7 separate regions of the Homo sapiens genome follow, and all the other regions are linked to region 5. Evidence: promoter capture Hi-C in 16 types of primary human blood cells and fetal thymus (Javierre and others, 2016). All regions are on one chromosome and are shown on one strand. The core of a region is centred on a gene start or on the middle of the fragment in contact, and the rest is flanking DNA. Distances in the headings are between cores, read along the strand shown.

Region 1 (3,456 bases), core at 269-2,768, 320 kb after region 5:
TCTCCTGCCTCAGCCTTCTGAGTAGCTGGGATTACAGGCATGTGTCACCACGCCCAGCTAATTTTTTGTATTTTCAGTAGAGATGGGGTTTCGCCATATTGCCCAGGCTGATCTCGAACTCCTGACCTCAGGTGATCTGCCCGCCTTGGCCTCCCAAAGTGCTGGGGTTACAGGCGTGAGCCACCGTGTCTGGCCAGCATTATTTTTCATTTCGGGTCAGAGTGAAATATGGAAAAGGAAACCAAAAGTAGTATTGGTACTTGGAATTCTGTGGGATTCAGCGATTTCTATGAGCCAGGAGAATTTAAAATGAGACTGATGCTTCAAAATCATGAAGGAAACTGTTTCGATAGTGTCCAGATCAAAAAGGGTGAAAGGAAACAGCCATAACATTGCCAGTGGTTATCTCTATTATGAGTGATTTTGTTTTATGCTTTATATTTTTTGGTAGTCTCCAGATTTCTATATTATTTTTATAATTGGAGAAAACATTACTTTCATTTTGAGTATGATAATAGAAATGAAGTTAAACTTTCCAGAATTTTTCTTCTTTCTTTTATTCTTTTTTCAAAATTTCATGTTTGCATATCCTCAAGGTCATGGAAGGCATGTTTAGATTCATTATTCATTACTTAGGATCCTGGGATTCTAGAGAAAAAGTCCTGAGAGGTCAGACTCACACAGAGGTGATAAATTCCAGTTCACCATTGATTTTTATAGAAGCTGCCTTCCTTCAGCCTCTTCTTCCCCTAAGCAGCATTAATAAGGGAATTCATGTCTTCTTTCAAATTTTAATGTTCAATCCTAGCCTGTCACTGAAGTAGGTTTGTGCAACTAATACAGCTTTCCTTCTAAAATCTTATTTTCTGAAATATCTCAGAAAACATATTTAGAGGAGGTGGTAAGGGATGGGCCGTTGTCAGATGTGCAACTTACTGGAACAACTTGGATGACTTGGTAAAGGCCTTACTTGAAAGTAGTGATGGGGGCCTTCATTTTATCAGAAAGGAAAATGAGACCCAGAGAAGTTACACAACTTGACCAAGGCCATGGAGCTAATTACTAGCAGAACTGGGTCTAGCTCACATTTTCCTACTCTTAGAATATTGTTCTCCCTCCACTACATTGCCTGCACATTAATGGTGTCCACCTGGGAAGGAGGTTTTCATAGGGGTAGGATGACAGGCTAGTCGTCTCATAACAGGGGCCAAGAGCACTAGGGAAGTGGAAGGAGTAGGGATGGAAATCAACAGGATAGGGGGATAGGTGCCAACCTCAGGGCAAGGCGCAAACAATGCAGTCTAATCCTAACCGGGCTGGCAAGCTGAATTTGATGGGTCCATCCGGCTGAGTTGTCCAAGCTGTAGTCCCTCCACTGCACCCAGCTGGCAGGATAAAAACCATTTGAAAAATATCCGGAAATTGCTACACACCAGGGAGCATCTGTGAAAAATACAGACCACAAATGAGCTGGCAGGGGCTCAGGGACTGCCAAGTCACCCAGCCTTGGCGGGTTTGTCTGAAGGGGTTCCGGAGTTGTTTCCCAGATGGGCTACTCGGCTGCTGAAACTGCTTGGGCCTGATGGACATTTTTTGCAGAATGTTTCTCTAATGCAGAAGATATGTTCCTGAAAATCTATGGGTATACCAGAATCTCTGACCTAGAATCATATTTTTCAAATGTAGTCATGAATAAGCCTGTGGTGATGCTCTACAGTTCTTCCTCTAAAGTGAAGAATTTTTCACAAATAATTTGCTCTTTCATAAATCTGTGTTTTTGATGCAAAATCCACCCAGGGTCATCTGAGTGAAGAAATTCCAGAGCACTGAGACATTTTGTGCTTTTTTATGTTGCTGCTGGGGAATGGGAAGGGAGAAGCAGAATTAGGCCCTTTTCCCAATGGGCTGGGATCAGGGGGATTGCCCCACCCTGTTGGGAATTTGCCCAGTTTCTTATTCCAATGGCTGCTTAAGAAATCAGAGCTGGAGATTCCTAACCCCAACACGTTAGCTCATCCTTTTCTAGCCCAGGCTATTCCCAACTTCCTTCGGTGATTTTTCTTGTTGTCTACACCATAATGTCCCCTCCAAACTGCCGATAATGTCCTCAACGAGATATGTAAATATTTTGGTTTGAGATCAGAGTCCATGGTCTTTTATCTTGTTTGGGAATGAGACTGCCTGCTGACATCTATTGATTGGTTGTTATTTTCTCTGATCCTTTCACCTGCTGGGTAGGATCAAGCAGTTCACCAGATAAGGGTGGTCTGAGTTTTAATAAAACAGTTGAAATTAAAAGAATAAAATGTGGCCGGGCACAGTGGCTCACGCCTGTAATCCCCAGCACTTTGGGAGGCCAAGGTGGGTGGATCACCCGAGGTCAGAAGTTCAAGACCAGCCTGGCCAACACGGCGAGACTCTGACTCTACTAAAAATAACAAAAATTAACTGGGCATGTTAGCTGGGCGTGGTGGCGGGTGCCTGTAATCCAAGCTACTCGGGAGGCTGAGGCAGGAGAATCGCTTGAACCAGGGAGGCAGATATTGCAGTGAGCTGAGATCGCGCCATTGCACCCCAACCTGGGCAACAAGAGCGGAACTTTGTCAAACAAAAAAAAATATTTGCTCAAATACACCAGCTGTTTTGTTCGTGAACTTCTACCTTCTTAGTGATCTGTCTGGTGGCTTCTGTTTATTTTAATCAGGTGCAAGACCATAGAGGCTGAGAAGGAAGAGAAGTCAGCAACAGAAATAACCTCACTAACAGCAAGACCCCCAGAGAAGCTAAAAACATTCCAGGCAGGGCTCACAACAGCTCTCAGAGCAGAATTCCCAAGGCATCACTTATGGTTTCTACAAGAGCTTTTGCCTTGCTGTTCCTTCCCCTACATGCGACCTTTCAGCCCCAGTGAGTCCAGAGGCTTTCTGCAGAGAGAACTGAGTCAGACTGTGAAGAAGAGGCTTTGGGCAGCTAAGAGGTATGAGAGAGAAAGAACAAGGGGAGAGACGATTTTAAGTAGTACTTAGTGACAGAAATGGAAGCTCCCTTAATTTCTTTAAAAAACAAAAGTAAAAAATGGAATTTCTTTTTATTACTTTTGGTTCCCGGATGTTTCTGAGTGCATCTAAGTATCACCTGAGCCATATGGGATTTCGGCGTTTATTCAATTTATATAAAAAATATTTTCTTTTAATAAAGGAGGTTGGGAGTGGGGATGAAGGGTTATTTTATTTCAGAAATCCTTCAGAGACACCGAGGACTCAACCCACTGGGTTTCAGTGAAAGCCCCATAGGAGACACTGAGTTTGGCAGAGACTACTTTGTCCCTTGTCAACACAGCCCTCAGATGGGTCCAAGCTAACATTAGGAATTCATCTTCCATCTTAGCCATGTGTTCTTCCAAATCAAAGAAAATCTAATGGTTGCAAAAAAAGGGCCAATCACCTCACTCCTTTA
Region 2 (3,492 bases), core at 993-3,492, 390 kb before region 5:
TCTCCCACCTCAGCCTCCCGAGTAGCTGTGATTATAGGCGTGTGCCACCATGCCCAGCTAATTTTTGTTTATTTGTTCATTTTTTGTAGAGATGGGGGGTCTTGCTGTGTTGCCCAGGCTGGTCTTGAACTCCTGAGCTCAAGCATCTACCCACCTCAGCCTCCCAAAGTGCCGGGATTACAGGTGTGAGCTATCATGCCTGACCAGCTCTTGGCTTTTTTGATTGACAAATTACAGTAAGAAAATACTGCTCTTTTAAAACTGAAATTTCAAAATAGTGAAACATGCTTATATAAAAAAACTTATTTTGTACCTGATATATTTGCCAGAATTAAATACATATCTAAAATTGTCAAGGTTTTAAAAACCTGAGCCATGGTTTCTTAACATCTGATGAAAAAGTCTTGAATTATATGGAAATATGTCCTCCTGTTATATGTGTTCAATTTCAAGTCTTTATTTTTACCTTGTGCTTTGACGGTTGCTATGGCCTTAGCCCGTCTTTCCGTTAATCTCACCTGCCCTTGCTGGATTATGCTTGAGGAGGTGCTCCTGCTACTCCTGGGCTCAGAAGCCCTCAGCAACACTTATACCCACACAGAAACGTCTAGACCCTCTGCTTGGCCTTCAAGGCATCATCTGTGTGTTTTCCTGCTTCCTTGACCTCCTTTCCCCATAGAACCTGTGCTGCTCAGCAGCTTGTTTTCCAACCACATGCCATGATTTGTGCTCCTTTATACCTTGAATGTCTCACTTCTGTGTGTCTGAAGACATTCCTAATTGTAATTCTTTAGTTCATCCACGCTGATATAATCAATTTAATATTCTACATTCTCATTTCTAAATTGAGGCTAATATTTAATCTGCATGGTTGCTATGAAAATTAGAGATAATGGTGGCTAAAGCAGTTATTTTTCTGTCCTTTGAACCCTTAACCACATGTTTATGTCCCTCTTGAAGCACTACAACAGGTGTCCTGTTGTTGTTACCTGTAAACTTCATGCCCCATACTAGATTAAATGCTTTGCAGCAGTATTCCCTTGCTCATCTTCCTATTACCCCTCATGTTGAACAGATGAAATACTCGAACATTGAACAAATGGATAAATGGAAAAAATGGTTATTGAGCTTTTTGCCTAAGCATAGCTATTTATAAACAAATTATTGTTCAAGGATATTAATAGGCGGGTATTATAGTATTTATACCATGTCAGAGAATAATACCATATGCCTGGCTATTGTCCTGTCTTTTAAGGCAAAGATAAAAGAGGCAGCTTGAGTGCTTGTGGATATTCTAACTTCTCTGCCTCAGTAGAACAGGCTGTGGCTCCCCTTGTTCTTGTGGCCTCTGTCACACCCAGACCCAACCATTTCACCTGGCTACATTCAGAAGTTTCAGGTCCCCCAGTGTTTGGGAGAATGGAGGGAAATCCAGGCAAGACTGATTCCAGACCTTTTCCTAGTCAGTGATACAGATAACCTGAACTCACATAGGTCAAGTTCAGTCATTGCACATGTGGGGAGGTGAGGCTCCATCAAGATTTTCAAATTCACTGTAGTTCATTCGTAAATGAAGAGTTTTTCTGAATATGCTTGGGAGTTTGACTCTATGTTGCTTTCTATCTTGTAAAGCAGTATGTAGTTTTTGGCTAATTTCTTCAGCCCTGCTTCCATACTGTTAGGAAATTTTTTTTTTTTGGACACAGGAACTCATTCTGTCGCCCAGAAGGGAGTGCAGTGGCGTGATCATGGCTCACTGCAACCTTGACCTCCCTGGCTCAGATCATCTTCCCACTTCAGCCTTTTTTTTTTTTTTTTTTTTTTTTTTTTTTGAGGCAGAGTCTTGCTCTGTCACCCAGACTGGAGTGCAGTGGCGTGATCTCACCTCACTTCAACCTCTGTCCTTTAGGTTCAAGCAATTCTCCTGCCTCAGCCTTCGGAGTAACGGGGACTACAGGCTTGCACCACCGTGCCCAACTAATTTTTGTATTTTTTAGTAGAGACAGGGTTTCACCATGTTGGCCAGGCTGGTCACAAACTCTTGGCCTCAAGTGATCCGCCAGCTTTGGCCTCCCAGAGTGATGGGATTACAGGTGTGAGCCACCGTGCCTGGTAGTGTGAGACATCTCAGCCTCTTGAATAGCTGGGACTACAGGTGTGCACCACCACACCTGGGTAATTTTTAAATTTTTTCGTAGAGACGGAGTCTTGCCATGTTGCTCAGGCTGTTCTCAAACTCCTGGGCTCAAGCAATCTTCCCATGTTGGCCTCCCAAAGTGCAAGAATTACAGGCGTAAGCCACCATGCCTGGCCAGGAGTAGTTTGTGTTATTGTTGCTTGTTTTATGTTTAGTTCTGTCAACTACAATACAAAGATTATATGATTAGTAACTGAGAGGCATCTTAGGCATAAAAAAGTAAAAGTCGGCCGGGCATGGTGGCTCACGCCTGTAATCCCAGCACTTTGGGAGGCTGAGGTGGGCGGATCATGTCAGATGATCAAGACCATCCTGGCCAACATGGTGAAACCCCGTCTCTACTAAAAATAAAAAAAAGTAGCCAGGCATGGTGGTGTGTGCCTGTAGTCCCAGCTGCTCGGGAAGCTGAGGCAGGGGAATCATTTGACCCTGGGAGGTGGAGGTTGCAGTGAGTGGAGATCACGCCACTGTACTGCAGCCTGGTGACAGAGTGAGACTCCATCTCAAAAAAAAAAAAAAAAAAGAAATAAAAGTCTAAGTTTTAAATCCTCTAAACTTAGGTTTATATCCCAGCTCTGCTGCTGATTTTTGCCCTCAGATAAGTTATTTGAAACCTACCTCATAGAGTTGTTGAGGATTATATTAATAAGAGATATTGCATAACATGGAAGTAAATGGTTGTTATTAATCTTTGAGTTTAAGAAACTAATCATTCGGTTGATAAAATTTAACTTGGCATTTTGTCTAGGTGTTTACTGCTAAGAGGCTTATTATGTCCCTAGCTTTTCCAGTTGCCAGAGATGTCAAAACACATTTGCCATTTGAAAAAAGAGTATGGCTGTGCTTGAAGGATACCAGGTGTCAAAGCAAAGTATTCCCTTTCTTTGTCTGCACTTAAGTTTTGCCACCTTGGTTCAAACCAGCCACCATTTACTGGGCCCCTACTGTGAACAGGGCTTGGTGAGCAGATTCAAAGCTGATCACCAAGGTGTCTGTCCTCAAATAACTCACAATATATATAAAAATCATGGATGTCTATGGAAGGCTAATAATGTTTGTCTCTCTGTATAGGAACTGCCACTTTCACCATACAGAAAAAAGCTGGTGGAGCCAAAGCAGCAGTAAGAAAGGCTACGCAGTCTCCAGTTACCTTCCAAAAAGGTAAGGGATAAAGAAGATAAAGTTTTTAGACTTAATACTGAATTTTCTTTTTTTTTTTTTTGAGACAGAGTCTCACTCTGTTGCCCAGTCTGGAGTGCAGTGGTGCAATGTCGGCTCACTGTAACCTCCACTCC
Region 3 (3,279 bases), core at 546-3,045, 500 kb after region 5:
AACAAAGATAATGTTATAAAGCTCCATGTAAATTTGTTTATAAGACACAAATTTATTTTACATCTCTATTGTAATCATCTGCCTCTCAGAAAACATACCCCTGTTATATATATTATTAGTGGAAATTTCATATAACCTTTCCTTTTTTATCCTAGGAATGAGGGAATTGAGGTTCGTCTAGTAAAGAGGAGAGAATATGATGAAGAGACTGTTCGATGGGCAGATGCTGTCATAGCTGCAGGAGGTAATAATTTGACAGAAGTAAAGATGTTGGCATATACAAATGTTTAATACACATTATTTCCAGATACCCTAGGGTCTAGCTATATTGAAGCCTTCAGAGTCTTACCATTAAACACATTTTTGGATTGTTACGATCAAGTTTAAAACTTCTGTTTTATACAAGGCTACATTTTAAATGAATGACGTTACTATGAGGTTCCTTGTGCATATTTAAGGTATGCATTTAACTTCAAATATGATTCAAAGGATCAGTTATTGTATTTTGGTATAATTATGGCAGTTTTAAGAAAAAAATGAAGTTGATAAAGAGTTTAATGAGATGAGGTAAATTCTATTCCTCTTTGGTCCCAATATACTTGTACTTACTTTTTTCTGAACTTTATCATTAAGTTAATGGCTACTGTTTCTAAAGCTTTAAGTTGACAGCAGGTGTTGAAGAGAAAAATTTGAAGTTGGACACATTGGATATGTTTTTATTAAAATAATTTGTGAATTTGGACTGGTGTTATGGGAGAAGGAAAGAAGATTGGCTAATAGAAATTTTTGGATTAGATTAGTGGTTACTAACTGTGGGGTGCTACTAGTATGTAAAGGGACTACCTCTAAAACATTCTACAGTGTCCCCACAACAAAGAATTATTCTGCCTAAATGTAATCTTGCCACTTATGAAATCCTGGATTAGAGTGGGAGAGAGAATCCAAAGGTATAATAGGTAGAAAGGGAGTGGGATAGGCTATAGCGGTTAGCAGGGTGGGGTATGATTGTTAAAACTACTGATTTTCAAAATGGCCAAAAACTAGATTTATAACAGAAATTTGGTTATGTCTTGTATTTTGTCTTATGTTCCTTAGGTGATGGCACAATGCTGCTGGCAGCGAGTAAAGTCTTGGACAGACTTAAACCAGTTATAGGGGTAAACACTGATCCAGAACGGTAAGAAAGAACGTATACATTTTGTTTGATTTGTGTGGTGTGCTTTTTAAGTTTTTTTTTAGGTTATACATACATGCATTTCTGCTTTGATTGCATAGTATCTTTTTATGGTCTGTCTTAAAATTTGGAAGCTATTTTTTATTTTCTTGACCATGTTCACATTCTTGGGCTCTGTTGCTACAGACATTTTACTAGGTGTATGGTGTCTAAGTGGAAGCATCATTGTTCCTGGCCACCATGAACATTAGAACCATGTTCCAGAAGCATTCTAGTAATCAAATTTAGGTATGTAGAACTGAGTAGGATTGTCTTTTATGTAGTTGTTTTCAAGGATATAGCTCTAGTTTTAAGCTCAGGCATGAAAAATATATATACATCTAGCTGGCATTGGTGGTAGGAAATTATGTTATAGGATGGACCAGTTCTCACATTTTAGCTTCCCAGGTAGTTTGGGAGTAGGATCTGTGGCATAATAGACCTGAGTTCTTGACCCAGGTGAGTGTTGGGGACCTTTGGTATTGCTGAGGAGGGACAAGTTAATAATGATCCATTTTCTACCCTTCCTTATGGCTTGTATTTATATTCCTCATTATGCTACCACTGATTTTTTTGGGGGACAGTGACTTTACTGACTTAATAAAAAGACCTATCTTAATAAAAAGACCAATAAAAACACTATTGGCACTTTTTGTTTCCTTCCTTAGCTTCGTGATATTTACCCTCATTCTGTTCTAGCCACCCACAGCCATGACTGTACCTGGACTTTATGGTGATCTGGAATTCCCTATCTCTACAATCCTAATTAATTCCACTCTGACTGTAGCCTTCTACCTTAACAGCAGCCTTATTACTTTATCCCACTAAATCTGCCCTTTGACTTTCAGTATTTTGATCACCTCCATTTTCTCCACTTATTTCTTCCTCACTTCATTCACTTTCTTAAATATTTCTTTCTTGCTTTCTTTCTTTCTTTTTTTTTTTTTTTGAGACAGAGTCTTGCTCTGTTGCCCAGGCTGGAGTGCAGTGGCGCACTCTCAGCACACTGCAACCTCTGCCTCCTGGGTTCAAGCAATTCTTCTGCCTCAGCCTCCTGAGTGGCTGGGACTATAGGCATGCACCACCACACCTGGCTAATTTTTGTACTTTTAGTAGAGATGGGGTCTCACCATGTTGGCCAGGCTGGTCTCAAACTCCTGATCTCAAGTGATCCACCCACCTTGGCCTCCCAAAATGCAAATGTTTCTTCATCATTATCTTTCTGCACAATTCTAGATCAATCTGACCATCATCCTTTCTACTTCTGCATCAGTACTGCTATGGTCATCTGGGGAAAAAAAGATCATTGGGTTTGGTGGCACTTCCAGTTTGTAGTCTTCAGCACTTGGCGGTGGACTTAGAGTTGCACACAAACTTCCTATGTAGCCCTACTCATCTCTCTTCCCCATTCTCTGTGGTGGCTGCTTCAGTAGTTCAACTTTTGCATTCACTTTGCTTCCCTTATCCTTCTTTCTTCAATAAACCCACCTTGTTTTCACAGAGGAATTGAAAGTCACTGGATTAGAACTACTTCACCTTTTCTCTTGCTTAAAAAAATCTTGTCCTGTCTTGTCTTTTTTTTCTCTCCCTTCACACTTGACTCCTTTTAGCCTAAAAAGACTTGTTCAAGACTCCTGTTTTTCAAGAAAATTTTAAAAATCCTTTACCCTGTGTCACTCTCTTGGTTATTATCTCTTTTCCTTCCACTTATCCCCAAGCTTGGTATCGCCACTCCTTCAGTTCTCAGTTATTTTCTAAAACTTTGCAGTTTTTTTATGGATTTGCCCCCAACCAGTTCATTGACGTTGCTTTTGCCTTAGAGATCAGTGATATCCTACTTACCGAATCTACTGGATATTTTAGTCCTTGTCTTACCTGATTTCTGGGAAGTTTTGGTGCTAACTGCTCCCTTATTTCAACTGTACTTTGTTGGCATTTATGATACCTTTTTCTTCCTATCTCTGTGACTACTTCTTTGTCTGTATTTCTTTTGAAGGATCTTACTATTTGGTTACTGGCTAAATACTGGTGTTTTTACATATTGTGCTCTGGGCCATCTTTTTTCT
Region 4 (3,058 bases), core at 177-2,676, 310 kb before region 5:
GAGACGGAGTCTCCCTCTGTCACCCAGGCTGGAGTGCAGTGGCGTGATCTTGGCTCACTGCAAGCTCTGCCTCCCGGGCTCATGCCATTCTCCTGCCTCAGCCTCCCAAGTAGCTGGGACTACAGGCGCCCAAAACCATGCCTGGTTAATTTTTTTGTATTTTCAGTAGAGACGGGGTTTCATTGTGTTAGCCAGGATGGTCTCAATCTCCTGACCTCATGATCTGCCCGCCTTGGCCTCCCAAAGTGCTGGGATTACAGGTGTGAGCCACCACGCCTGGCCCAATTTTTATATTTCTTAAGTAATCATTTATTTATAATTGATTAAAAAACTTCAGATTTGTGATTGGTAAATAATGTGAGATAATATAAAATATTAAGTACTTAAATAATTTGTGATTTTAAACATTTTAATAAATTTCTAGCTCAAGATTAAGCAAACTTTATGTAACAATTATAAATAATAAATATTAGGAATGTAATATAAATCTTTAAAAAACATTTTTATAATAGCTAAAACAATTTCATTTTGAGACATAATTTTATATGACTTAGGAGATATCAGTTTTGTGATGAGTATCATTAGCTAGATACATATTAGCCCCTGGATTTTTACTCCTATTCAATATGACATCTAAAATTATAATATGCTATTAAAAGATATGTGAAAGAGGTGAGGCCCATGCTTTTATTACAATGCTCTAGATAATCTTAGTCAATCTTAATATAATCTAGGATGCAACATCAAACAGATACCTATATAACAAAAATGTATTTCATTTAAAAGTGAAGTAATCATTAGACAAGCAGAGCCAGAGGCAAAAATGAGAAATTTACTCAAAATATTTAAAAATATCTTATAAAATCAACTAAAGATCAATATATATATAAAATGTCTTACCAGCTAGAGATTCCTCATATTTAAGAATGTGCTCAACTAGGTTATCAACAAGTTGAGTACAAGCTTTCTTCACAGGTTTATATGAGGAATCCTCTTCGGACTTCAACAACTATATATACATATATATATATATATATATACATATATATATACAAAAAAGAAAAAAAAATCCCGGTATAATTATTCATTAGGCAATAATAATATAAACACATTAAAAGTGTCCATAAGTAACATACTTTTCAATTTGTCATTAACAATTTAATACTCAAAGTGCAAATTAATAAAACAAAAATATATATGTTTAAAAATATCTTATAAACCAGTAATTTACCAATACTTTCAAACAATTTTACTACAAAGTACTTAAATTGCTGTGTAAGACCTAAGGTAATACGTGAAAGATGTAGAAAAGATGACCTTCCCTTTCTCCCTATTCCAATCAAAAACACAGTATCACATAATACTAGTTGAATTATTTTAAATAATTAATAACTGCATCTGAATTGCACCTTAAAAGGCAATTATAAAACATAACGGTAGATTTCTTTTCTGCATTATCCTTTGCAAAATCACAAACAATGCTAGAAAAGTGTTATGAATAATGAGATGAGGATAGAGCTCATTCTAAATATAGCTAAAAAGTAAAACCAATCTAATCTTTCATAATCAAAGGTCAACAGAAAAGTCATAAGGTATATCTGTTTTCCTAAGAAAAGCTAGCTAATCTAATTCTGGGGATATTGAAGGAATCTAAATGTGTATTTGATTTCTGTGAAGAGTTCCACTGCTGTTAAATATAACTTTCTCTGCAATAATGGAAATATTCTATATCTTTGCTGTCCAATATGGTTTCCAAGAGTCACATGCAGTTATTAAGCACTTGCAATGTACCTACTGTGACTGAGAAATTAAAATTAAATAAAATAAAAATTGAAATTAAGTTAACATTTAAAAAAATGCATGTGGCTTACAGTTGGGCACAAGCTTGGGCAGCACAAGCTTAAACTTTCCCCACAAGATGCATAAATGATTAAAACAACTGACAGCAACCAGAGTAACATAACACACACACTGCCCCTTTTCCTCCAATTTGAAGAAATAAATAAAGCAGACAGCTTCAATGTACTAGGTTTCAACTATGAACCGCAAATTCTTCCTGCCCCATTCTCTAATTTCCTTAAAGCAGCTATTAATATCACATTCTAGTTTGGTCTTTTCTGAGACAGGGTCTCATTGTCACTCAGGCTGGAGTGCAGTGGCACAATCAAAGCTCACTGCAGCCTTGCCCTCCCAGGCTCAGCCTCCCACACAGCTGGGACCACAGGCGTGAGCCATCGTGCCCAGCTTATTTTTGTACAGTTTGTAGAGATGGGGTTCTCTATGTTGCCCAAGCTGGTCTCAAACTCTTGGGCTCAAGTGATCCGCCTGCCTTAGCCTCCCATAGTGCTGGGATTATAGGCATGAGCTACCATGCCCGGCCTAGCTTGGTCTTTTATTTAACGGCAGGAGTAGAAAACTATCCTCTCTCATCCTTGGTTTTTCCTTTTTCATTTCCAAGGCTTCAGGTACACACAAAAGAATTAATCATAAATTTTGACTCATGACACACTGTTGCCACTCGTATATGCCCTTCTAATTTACTAATAAATAATGGCATACTTTGAATCCAAATCAAGAACACGAATAATTTTAATATCTTGTAGCTCCCAATGTGCTCCTTCCCTTATCCCATTTTCCTGTTTCACACTTGAGATAACCACTATCAGAAATTTACCATCTCCTTGTTTTTAAAAAAAGTATAAGCTGTATGCTATTTATATTTTTCTTTGATTTTCCACTTTCTAAAAAGGTAGTATACTTGATGTAGTCTTCTGAGATTTGCTTTTTTCACTCATCATTATGCCACTATGATCTAGGTTACTGCATACAGCTGTATTTTACTGATTTTCTCTGCTGTACAACACCCCACTGTGTGCCTATACCTTAATTCATTTATCCACTCTTTTGTAGATAGGTTAATCCCAATTTTAGTACAATAAGCACTCTTGTATATGCCTCCTGATGCAAATATGCAAGATTCTTTTGTGTGTATATATATTTGAAGTCGAATTGCTGGGTCATTGGATACATGCATTGTTCAACTTCACAAGATAATGCT
Region 5 (3,103 bases), core at 234-2,733:
ATGTAAACTCTGAGAATAGTGAGGTATTTTTTGTCCTTTTTGTTCAATAACAAACACTCAGTGCCTAGAATAATGCCTTACAGGAGTGCTTTATAAGCATTTGTTGAATGAATGAATGAACTAATGAATGAAGTGTAATACAAGGGGCAAAGGATTTGGCATCCTTTGGTCATGGAGTGCTGCTCAGATATGTACTATAGAAACCATTCTGAAGCATTTCAAAAGACATCCAGTTTCTCCTCTGTATACTGCAAAATCTTGGGCTTAGGTTCTGGCATTTAGTCTATGACAAATGATTGCTGGCAAAAGTTGAATGAAGCAGTTAAGAGTATGGGTTTGCAGTAAGATCCAGGTTCAAATTTACACCTTTCCATGTACTACCTGTGTGACTTTGGTGAAATTATCTTCTCCAGGCCTTAGGGTGAAATGTATGTGAGAATGCATGAAGCCTGCCACGTGGTTAATATTAAGAGTGATAACTCATATTATCATTGATGGAGGTGAATGAAAGAAATGGAGTAACACGCTTTTAAAACACAGTTTCCCCTCCATTATCATTTCAACCACTTTAGATGAAAATATTGAGGGATACATCCACAATTTCTAGTTAATTAAAAAATATCAGGAGGTCTTAGTAGATTCTAGATTTTTCCTTCAATGAAATGAGTTGTTAAATAAAAGGCCTCCATAAGTACAGGGTCTTGTCGTTGGGCTCTATCTTATGAGCGGTGGATCTGCCTCCCAGGAAGGTAGGCAGACACCAGTGAGGCATCTGGTGCTTGGGATGCAGCGAGTGGAGCCAAGCAGAGAATGATCAGATCCGTTTGCCTGGAATTTCTGCATTTGCTGCCCCAAACATCTGGAGCCAGGCTACCCAGTGCAGATGGAAAATAGCAAAATGCAAATTCCCTGGGTTCAGCTGAGGGAAGCCAAGGCAGACAGAGTCTGAGAAGGCGGATGAAAGGTGAGCCAAAACAAAAGCCCTGGCGGGTGGTGGGGCAGCGTTTTATCTAGAGCCTACGGCCCCCGGTAAGGACAGGAGATGAGAGAAGGGACCTTAGAGCTACTTGGGCCACCTTCATGTTCGTACTCATCCCCCTCCTTAACAGCCTGAAAGGGAGCCTGCTGGGCTTACGGCAGCCTCCCTGTCCTCTTCCTGATGCCATGCCTGCTCCATTGCTTTGCTTCTTCTGGATCCTGTTTCGCCCTCTCCCTCAAGAAGGAGATCCTGAAATAGATCCTGAGTCAATGACTCAGGTGCAAGTGCTTTATTAAAGAAAGGCTCCCAGAAGAAATCTACTTGCACCCGAATCATTGACTCAGGATCTCCTTCTGGGAGAATCCAAGCCAAGACAAGACAGACAACCCAACCAACTGAGCTGCTCACAGCTTCAACTGCTACAACCCTGGAAAGGATTCTGATTGGCTAGCTAAGGGTCACATGCCCAAATGGGCCTTTGATTGGCAGCTGTTGCTTCCTTCCTACTCCCTCCCACACACCCAGGAGCTCCAGCCTGTTATGGGATGGGCATCCTACCAGGAACCAAGGATGCTAAGGTAAGCAGTCCTTGCCCTCATAGGTTTACTTATACTTAAGGGGAGAGAACCGTTAGTCAAATCACCCCACATACAGATCTTTACACACTATGAAGGACAAGCACAGGGTGCAGTCAGTGGGAGGGGCCCAGAACGGGAAGTGCCATGCTGGCTGCTGCTGTGTGGAATGGGCTGTAAAGAGAGCAAGAGTGAAAGCCACAGCAGGGGAGCTGGTCAGAGATGGCAGTGGCTTTATTAGAGTGGTGGCCCTGGAGTTGGAGACAGGTGGGAAAAACTCAAGAGCCCTCTAAGGAACCGACCCATGGCAGTCCATCGCCACCAAGTCCCTCTTACCACTCTAGGTTTAAAGAAACCCAAAAAACAAAACTACGTTGCAACTGCACTGCTACACCAGGAAACCTAAGGGGGAACAAAAGAAAACTTAGTAGTGCCCTCTAGGCTGAAGATTTGACCTATTATTTACTAACCTTTCCCTCCCTCTTCCTTATTTTCAACAAATCTCCTGCCATCCATTTTGAATTCTTCTCTAAATAGAGAAAGCTTTCTTTCTCAGCTTCATTTAAATGTCCACCATGGTATTTACCCATGTTTTCTTGATTTTTATTTCTTTTTGGGGCGGGTATCTAAAAGATAATCTGATCCCTGTTCCTGATTCTGTAGGTGACAGAGAGAAGTGGTTTTCTCATTTTTTTGTGTGTGAAATTATTCGCATATGAGGAAAAGATAGCTCAAAAATAGAAGCTCTTTCATTATCTCTCCACAATGTAGTGTGGCCCCAAGTGACTATTTTGTGGAGACACGGTAATTTGGGGTGGCTAAATCATTACCCCGAGGTGTGTCAGATGCTGCCAAGACCTCCTTCATTCATGTGGCCAAGACTGTGGGCTTCCTGGCTGGGGAGGCAGAGGCCCTGCTCTTCTGCTGCTAACCTTGGGGTCAGCGAGCCCTGATCCACACTTCCTCTGGGCAACATCAATGGGGCTGCTGAACATATTGAGCCAGACTTGTTTCCAAGAGATAGAAGGAACTAGAGCATTGGGGAAAGTCCCAAGTAACTCTAGCCCTCAGCCACCTGCTGTGGCTGAAGATGAAGTCTCTGCAGCTTCAAGAATCCAACTGGCTGGTGCACATTGTTCTCATTGGCTAGATCATTCCTCCATGTAGCACTTCACTAAACTCATTAACAAATATTTACAAATGACATTGCTTTTTGGGGTCATGTATATTTCAGTCTTCAGAATCCATCAGGCACTCAAATCCCTTGGCAGTTCTAGTTCTCTCCCCTAGACATGCCTCTGCCCCCTACTACTCAGTTCCTTTTATTTCTACCATTCGTTTTTATTTTCTATTTCATTTCTTTACTTTTTAGAGACAAGGTCTCTGTCACCCAGGTTGGAGTGCAGTGGCATGATCATAGCTCACTGCAGCCTCAAACCCTTGGACTCAAGTGATCCTCCTGCCTCGGCCTCCTGAGTAGCTGAGACTACAGGTGTGTTCCACCACATCTGGCTAACTTTTGTATTTTTTGTCAAGATGGGGGTCTTGC
Region 6 (3,432 bases), core at 582-3,081, 460 kb after region 5:
GATTAAACAATATATGCCTAAATAACTATTTTAACCAACATAGGAGTGAAAACTACCATTTTGGCTGAGAGATACATTATCTGAATGACTAGGTAATGAGCATGTACTTCGATCTTTGCCAACCATGGCACATGCTCTCTTGATACATATTTGTCAGTTGTCAAACTCTTGTTAAAAAAGAAAAAGTACTCAAAATTATTTTTATTGATTGAAATAAAAATTTAAGTGGAAACATAACCCATCTGGCTTTAAAAGACACAAACGCCCTGAAACATCTTTGCAAATTCCTGGTCGAGGAAGGAATTGTAAATACTAGATCAGATAATGTATAGGGTTCCTTCCAATTCTAAATTTCCTCACTCTTACATTTATATATTAATTCAGGTATTGTGCATACACATATGTACATAAGGCAAAGTAACTGGATAAGTTACTAGTTGAAAATTTCAAGATAAATAGATGAGTGGGGTTTTCTCTCACATTGGGTGACTAGGATGGTGACATTCTTAGGGTGTTTCCCAGGATTAAATAGTCCTGAAAAGAGCTTTACTAATCCAGAAATGAGAATTAACCCAATTTGACTAAAATGGCAAAAATAAACAAAACATGGTGGGATTTCTGAATATTATGATATTCCGGTATTAGACAGATCGCCACTGTATGTGACCTGGGCAAATTATTTAAGTTTTTTGTGTCAGTTTACTCACCTGTAAAATGTGGACAATAGAATTACAAAGTGTTAGAGTTGTAAGGAGTAAATGAGATCGTACATAAAATGCTTAAGGCAGTACTTAAACATAGTAAGCTTTCAATATATTTAACTATAACTATTGTTTCCTTGTCTGATGGTCCTATAGTAAGGTAGTCTTTATAAACTTTTTGATGGATTTCTTTACTTTCAGATTTCTGAGGGAAATTCCTATTTGTTAAGTGAAAATTTATCAAGGGCTAGAATTTCAGTCCAGCTGTCTACTAACCAGGACTTTTTAGGTGCAACATCAGTAGGGTAAGTTAATGAGAAAATAGAAGCGTTGTCCTTTCATTCTTGCATTCTTTCATTATTATAACCATTCATGGAAAATAATTTTCTGACCTTGTACGGATAAATTGCCAAGATTCCCATTTGAAAGGAGATTTTATAGGAAACACAAGTTTAAAATGTTTTTAAAAATATTTCGATTCTTAAATATTATCATATTAATACTGGATTGTCTTCATTGTTTCATTAACTTGGGTGAGAACTTTTTGAAAATGTATGGCTAAACTTTTATTTAGTTGGACATAAATTATCTGATTAGTAGATTAGGCTCTCTTCCTCTCTCTCTAGCATTTTTTTCTTTTATTTTGGCATTATACATTATTTATTGGCATAGGTTAGATAAGCAACAAGGAAAGCAGTATAAATCTGCAATATTTATTAGTATTACTAGTGATGGATAAATGTTTGATCTGAGAGGTTAAAACTAGCTGTGGATATAAACTGACTCACATGACTGGGCTCTGTCCAGGTGCGGTAGCAGGTGCCTTCTATGTGCATTGGGGATGCAATGCCGAACCCTGAGCACATCTGTCTACAAAGAGCGGGCTTCCGGTCTTCGAGTTTCTCATCATGAAAAACACTTTTAACATTAAAAAAAAGTTTCTGGGAGGCAAAAAATTTAAGCCAATGCACACTCAATTATAACAGACAGGGTTTCGCTTTTGCCCTGGAGATCTCTGGTTGCTAAAACATCAGCCACTTGAGGAAGAGAAGAGGGGAAATTAGATACTAGACAGGGTGTGTTGGAAAAGCAAAAGGGGTTGGGAAGCCCTCCTGGCTGACCACACAGCCAGTGCAGTGATGGGCATGAGGCAGTCAGGACTGGTCTCTGCCAGTGCTGTAAGAGCTGGAAACTATTTTGACAATCACCTCTGGATGCCACTATCTGAATTTTTCCTTCATTTTTCATTAAATTCACACTAACAAAAGTGAGCAGTAAATTTGATTTACATAAATCTATTAAATTATCTGATTATTTCAAGGTTTAAAATGGCTTTATCTATGTATTTAAAATAGTAAATGCTTATTTCATTTTCTTAGATGTCAACCAAATGAAGATAAATGTTCTTTTAAAAGCTGCAGTTCCAATTTTGTTTTTGGAGAAAACATGGTAGAAAGAGTTTTGGTAAGATTTTGGTATATGTTTCTATTACTATATACAGAGCTGTCACTTTAAATTTCTAAAGGTAAATTAATTAAAAGTAATATTAAATTGAATTATACTTTTTAACTCCTGAGTTCAAACGCACATTTTCTTTCTTTAACTGGAAAGATTCTCCTGGGAAGCATGTCCTAGTTGTTAAAATAATAGAAACCCACAGAGGAAGGGAACTGTATAATTATAACATTATTACTGATGTGAAATATTAAATAGTTCTTTGACTTGTGTTAAACCAAAAGTACCCAAGGAAATCCCAGAATCATCTGCAATAGTTAGATAAGCTCAGTTGGTAATGATAGTTTAATAGTTTGTCGATGTCATCATTTTGTAACAAGATGCATTTAAAATTATTTGCCAGTTTGGTTTTTTTTTTTTTTTTTTTTGAGACAGAGTCTCGCTCTGTCACCCAGGCTGGAGTGCAGTGGTCCGATCTCTGCTCACTGCAACCTCCGCCTCCTGGGTTCAAGTGATTCTCCTGCCTCAGCCTCCTGAGTAGCTGGGACTACAGGCGCGTGCCACCACACCTGGCTAATTTTTTTTTTTTTTGTATTTTTAGTAGAGATGGGGTTTCACTGTCTTAGCCAGGATGGTCTCGATCTCCTGACCTCGTCATCTGCCCACCTCAGCTTCCCAAAGTGCTGGGATTATAAGCTTGAGCCAATTTGTTCTTATCAGTTAACCACAACCCTAACTTCAAGCTCTTACATCAAAAAGCATTATTATAACTTTCTTTTGCTAGCTTTCAGAGAAAATTCATAGTGCTTTACTTGCCTAGGAGAATATACTTGCCTAGTGAAAACCCCTCACGTTATTACCATCATCCTTATTTAATGTTCAGCATCCTCTTGCAATGAGGTAACTGCTTCTCTGATCCCCACAGAACTCTGATCTACAGTGGAAAATTTTACAGAAAAGTGAAAGCTGTGGAAAACCATGCCTATGGTTTTATCTGGTCCATCACATCTTCATACCTTTTCCAGCTTTCACTCAAGTCAGGAAAGTGGCTGAGATAGCTCGAACGTGCCTAGCTTGTCTCAGGGATACCAGTTACATGAAGAATCCCAAAGAAGCTGCAGAGATTTAAAAACCCATGTACGGATTTAGATTAATAAAAGAACCAACTCGTTAAGCCAGTTCATTCCATTTTTTTTTTTTTTTTTTAAGATGAGGTCTTGCTCTTTCACCTAGGCTGGAGTGCAGTGGCACGATCTCGGCTCACTGCAACCTCTGT
Region 7 (3,061 bases), core at 349-2,848, 350 kb before region 5:
TTGGTATGCTCAATGACAAAGGGAACTCTATTCTCACATTTCTATAAGGTTATTATTTCTTTGGAAAAAAGAGAATTTATGTTTCTGATTGGTGAGTGGCAAGAGTTCAACATCGCCAGGTGTGGTGGCTCATGCCTGTAATTCCAGCACTTTGGGAGATTGAGGTGAGTGGATCACTTGAGGTCAGGAGTTTGAGACCAGCCTGGCCAACATGGTGAAACCCTGTCTCTACCAAAAATACAAAAATTAGCCAGGCGTAGTGGCATGTGCCTGTAATCCCAGCTATTCGGGAGGCTAAGGCATGAGAATCACTTGAATCTGGGAGGCGAAGGTTGCGGTGAGCAGAGATTGCACCTGGGTAACAGAGTGAGACCTTGTCTCAAAAAAACAAAAACAAAAGAAAAAAAAAGTTTGACATCAGTTGCTCCCCCCAGCCCAAATTTTCTCTTTTCTTTTCTTTTTTTTTTTTTTGAGACAGGGTCTTGCTCTGTCACCTAGGCTAGAGTGCAGTGGTGTGATCATTGCCCACTGCAGCCTCTACCTCTTGTTCAAGTGATCCTCCTGCCTTGGCCTCCTGAGTAGCTGGGACCACAGGTAAACACCACCATGCCTGGCTAATTTTTGTTTTTTGTTTTTTTTGTAGTGATTGATAGGGGTTTCACTATGTTGCCTCAGCTGGTCTCTAACTCCTTGGCTCAAGCAATCCTCCCATCTCAGCCTCCCAAAGTGCTGGGATTGCAGGTGTGAGCCACCGTGCCCAGCCTGTTTCCATTTCTTAAGTGAGTGCAATACCTGTATTAAAAACCAATTGCATGTGACACTATTCTTTCCCAACACTTGAGGCTTGACAAGTGAGGGGTAAGCAATTTTTCTTTTGGTAGGCTGCCTAAATAGATAAGTAAGTATCTGCCTTGCCAAATACTCGACCCAGCAGATGCATTGCAAGGTCTAGATTCCGGGAAGAAGGCAGCAAGCTTGATTGTGATTGCAGGTCCAGGTTACAATGTGTTCTGTATTCTGGCTCTACTGACAATAAAGCTGTTAATGTTACCTCCATCTATCTGGCTGCAGTTTATAATTTGAATCAGATCTCTAAGGAATATGGCATGTGATTTCTCGGCCTACTTAATCCTGAACACATGCTATGTTGGCTGTGACTTGAGCTCAGGCCCCCAGATGGCAAGTGAGAATTCTACTTTCTTTCTTTCTTTCTTTCTTTTTTGAGATGGAGTCTTGCTCTGTCACCAGGCTGGAGTGCAGTGGTGCAATCTCAGCTCACTGAAACCTCTGCATCCCAGGTTCAAGCAATTCCCCTGCCTCAGCCTCCTGAGTAGCTGGGACTACAGGCGTGCACCACCGCACCCGGCCAATTTTTTGTATTTTAGTAGAGACGGGGTTTCACCATGTTGGCCAGGATGGTCTCGATCTCCTAACCTCATGATCCACCCACCTTGGCCTCCCAAAGTGCTGGGATTACGGGTGTGAGCCACCACACCCAGCTGAAAATTCTACTTTCTAATCTAACAAATAGATGATATGAGAAGGTGGTATATTTATTCATAAAATAAAAGTTGCTATATGAAGGGAGCAATCAGAGAACAAGAAAAAACCTTCAAAATTTAAAATATATAGTTGTAATGAATTATTTAATATTAGAGTTAAAAGATAAGATAATGTAGGAAAACTCCTCTCAAAGAAGACAGAGCCAAAAAGGAAAGGGGGCAGGGAAGAGCAAAAAACATAGCTGAGAAAATTAGTCTAAAAGGAACAGTATCTACAGATTTAAGAGGACAAATAAACTAAAGGGGAGAAAGTTAGTTAGTAAAGAAAATTCTCCAGAGCTAAGGACACAGATTAAATAAGCCTACAACACACCCTGCAAAATGAATTTTATTAATTTTATTAAAACAATAGAGATGGGATCTTGCTTTGTTGTCCAGGCTGGTTTTGAACTCTTGGCTTCAAGCAATCCTCCCACCTCAGCCTCACAAAGGGCTAGGATAACAGGTGTGAGCCATGGTGCCCAGCTGCAAAATGAGTTTTTTAAAAAAGATTCACATTAAGGGACATCGCTATGAAATTTTAGAATACCAGAAATACAAAAAATATCCTAAAGTCTTCTAGAGAGGGGAAACACAGATCGTATACAAAAGAACAAAAATCATAATTGTATCAGTCCACTTAACAGCAACAGCACAGGCTAGGAGACTATGAGAAGCTTTCAAAGGGAAACTTTTCAACTTAGAATTCTAGACCCGGCTATCAATCATGAGACTAAAGACGTTTTCAGACATCCAATAATTCGAAAACTTTGTCCCCATGCACCTATTCTTAGGAAGTTATGGCAGGATATGCTCAAGCAAACCGAGAATTTTAAGCTAAAAGGACAAAAGTATGGATGCCAGAGATGGACTCTGGATCCAGCCAGAAATGGGGAAGGAAAAGTCTGGAACAACTTTGCAGCAGCCCTGGAAAACGAATCCACATTGATACAAAACTAATGGGGAGGAGGGGCTGGGATAGAGGAAGAGGGTGGGGGAAGACTCCAAAGAGCGAATGATATAAAAGAACATTCCAAAGGAATTAAAGTACACAAGAAAACATCATATACAGGAACATGTATTTATAGTACACTAAGTGTTGGCTCTGATTAAACAATATTTACATAGTTGTTTTATATTATATAAATTCTCATTAAATATATCCATATTGGGAGGAGAGGGGAAGGACATGAGAGCCAAGTCCTTACCTATCATAAAAAAGTCAACAGATCATAATATAATTCAATATGTAAGGTCTAGGGTTAACAAATTGTAACAGTATATTCTTTAGAAATATAAATGACCCAAAGAAAGAGCTAAGAATTTAAAGTGGTTGCCTCTACAAAGGACTAGATGGAGAGAGATGGGATAAGGTATTCTTTCTTTAATTAGCAAAATCAAACTATTAAGTAACAAACTTTATTGAGTTAAAACCTTCATTAATTGTCTTGAAATTACTTTGAATTTTATAAATGGCAAAATGTTAAAGATTCAGTTGACTTTTTACAGTTATGCAGGAA

What was found. Contacts are between HindIII fragments. The CHiCAGO score rates a contact against its expected background, and 5 or more counts as called.
Region 1: a fragment that was not itself captured here is called in contact with the fragment with the promoter of SLC1A3-AS1 in region 5 in 4 of 17 cell types (M1 macrophages, monocytes, M0 macrophages and 1 more); the score reaches 9.2 in M1 macrophages.
Region 2: a fragment that was not itself captured here is called in contact with the fragment with the promoter of SLC1A3-AS1 in region 5 in 1 of 17 cell types (naive CD4 T cells); the score reaches 5.7 in naive CD4 T cells.
Region 3: a contact is called between a fragment that was not itself captured here and the fragment with the promoter of SLC1A3-AS1 in region 5, in 2 of 17 cell types (neutrophils and naive B cells). The highest score is 5.6, in neutrophils.
Region 4: a contact is called between a fragment that was not itself captured here and the fragment with the promoter of SLC1A3-AS1 in region 5, in 1 of 17 cell types (naive B cells). The highest score is 5.6, in naive B cells.
Region 6: a contact is called between a fragment that was not itself captured here and the fragment with the promoter of SLC1A3-AS1 in region 5, in 1 of 17 cell types (monocytes). The highest score is 6.8, in monocytes.
Region 7: a fragment that was not itself captured here is called in contact with the fragment with the promoter of SLC1A3-AS1 in region 5 in 2 of 17 cell types (erythroblasts and monocytes); the score reaches 5.5 in erythroblasts.

Annotation. Positions count from the first base shown.
Region 1 is chr5:36,402,175-36,405,630 of GRCh38, reverse strand. No RefSeq gene overlaps it. Among named protein-coding and RNA genes, the nearest start is that of RANBP3L, 100 kb to the right of the region's middle. The HindIII fragment of the contact is 4,575 bases long and covers 1-3,456 here.
Region 2 is chr5:37,114,826-37,118,317 of GRCh38, reverse strand. CPLANE1 (ciliogenesis and planar polarity effector complex subunit 1) reads left to right here. Exons shown (of 53, transcript NM_001384732.1): 51 at 3,269-3,358. Among named protein-coding and RNA genes, the nearest start is that of CPLANE1-AS1, 130 kb to the left of the region's middle. The HindIII fragment of the contact is 5,052 bases long and covers 1-3,492 here.
Region 3 is chr5:36,223,440-36,226,718 of GRCh38, reverse strand. It overlaps NADK2 (NAD kinase 2, mitochondrial), which reads left to right. Exons shown (of 12, transcript NM_001085411.3): 3 at 156-244; 4 at 1,096-1,177. Among named protein-coding and RNA genes, the nearest start is that of NADK2-AS1, 4.0 kb to the right of the region's middle. The HindIII fragment of the contact is 2,276 bases long and covers 658-2,933 here.
Region 4 is chr5:37,034,330-37,037,387 of GRCh38, reverse strand. NIPBL (NIPBL cohesin loading factor) reads right to left here. Exons shown (of 47, transcript NM_133433.4): 33 at 901-1,009. Among named protein-coding and RNA genes, the nearest start is that of NIPBL, 160 kb to the right of the region's middle. The HindIII fragment of the contact is 921 bases long and covers 966-1,886 here.
Region 5 is chr5:36,723,568-36,726,670 of GRCh38, reverse strand. SLC1A3-AS1 (SLC1A3 antisense RNA 1) reads left to right here and starts at 1,483. Exons shown (of 2, transcript XR_007058736.1): 1 at 1,483-1,557. RefSeq lists enhancers at 2,486-2,755, 2,796-2,845, 2,856-2,905. The HindIII fragment of the contact is 5,384 bases long and covers 1-2,099 here.
Region 6 is chr5:36,259,513-36,262,944 of GRCh38, reverse strand. It overlaps RANBP3L (RAN binding protein 3 like), which reads left to right. Exons shown (of 14, transcript NM_145000.5): 7 at 903-1,006; 8 at 2,081-2,165. The region is part of intron 1 of LOC124900962 (a long non-coding RNA gene); the gene reads right to left. Among named protein-coding and RNA genes, the nearest start is that of NADK2, 19 kb to the right of the region's middle. The HindIII fragment of the contact is 2,047 bases long and covers 808-2,854 here.
Region 7 is chr5:37,073,664-37,076,724 of GRCh38, reverse strand. It overlaps a transcript of CPLANE1 not described here. Among named protein-coding and RNA genes, the nearest start is that of CPLANE1-AS1, 170 kb to the left of the region's middle. The HindIII fragment of the contact is 1,244 bases long and covers 977-2,220 here.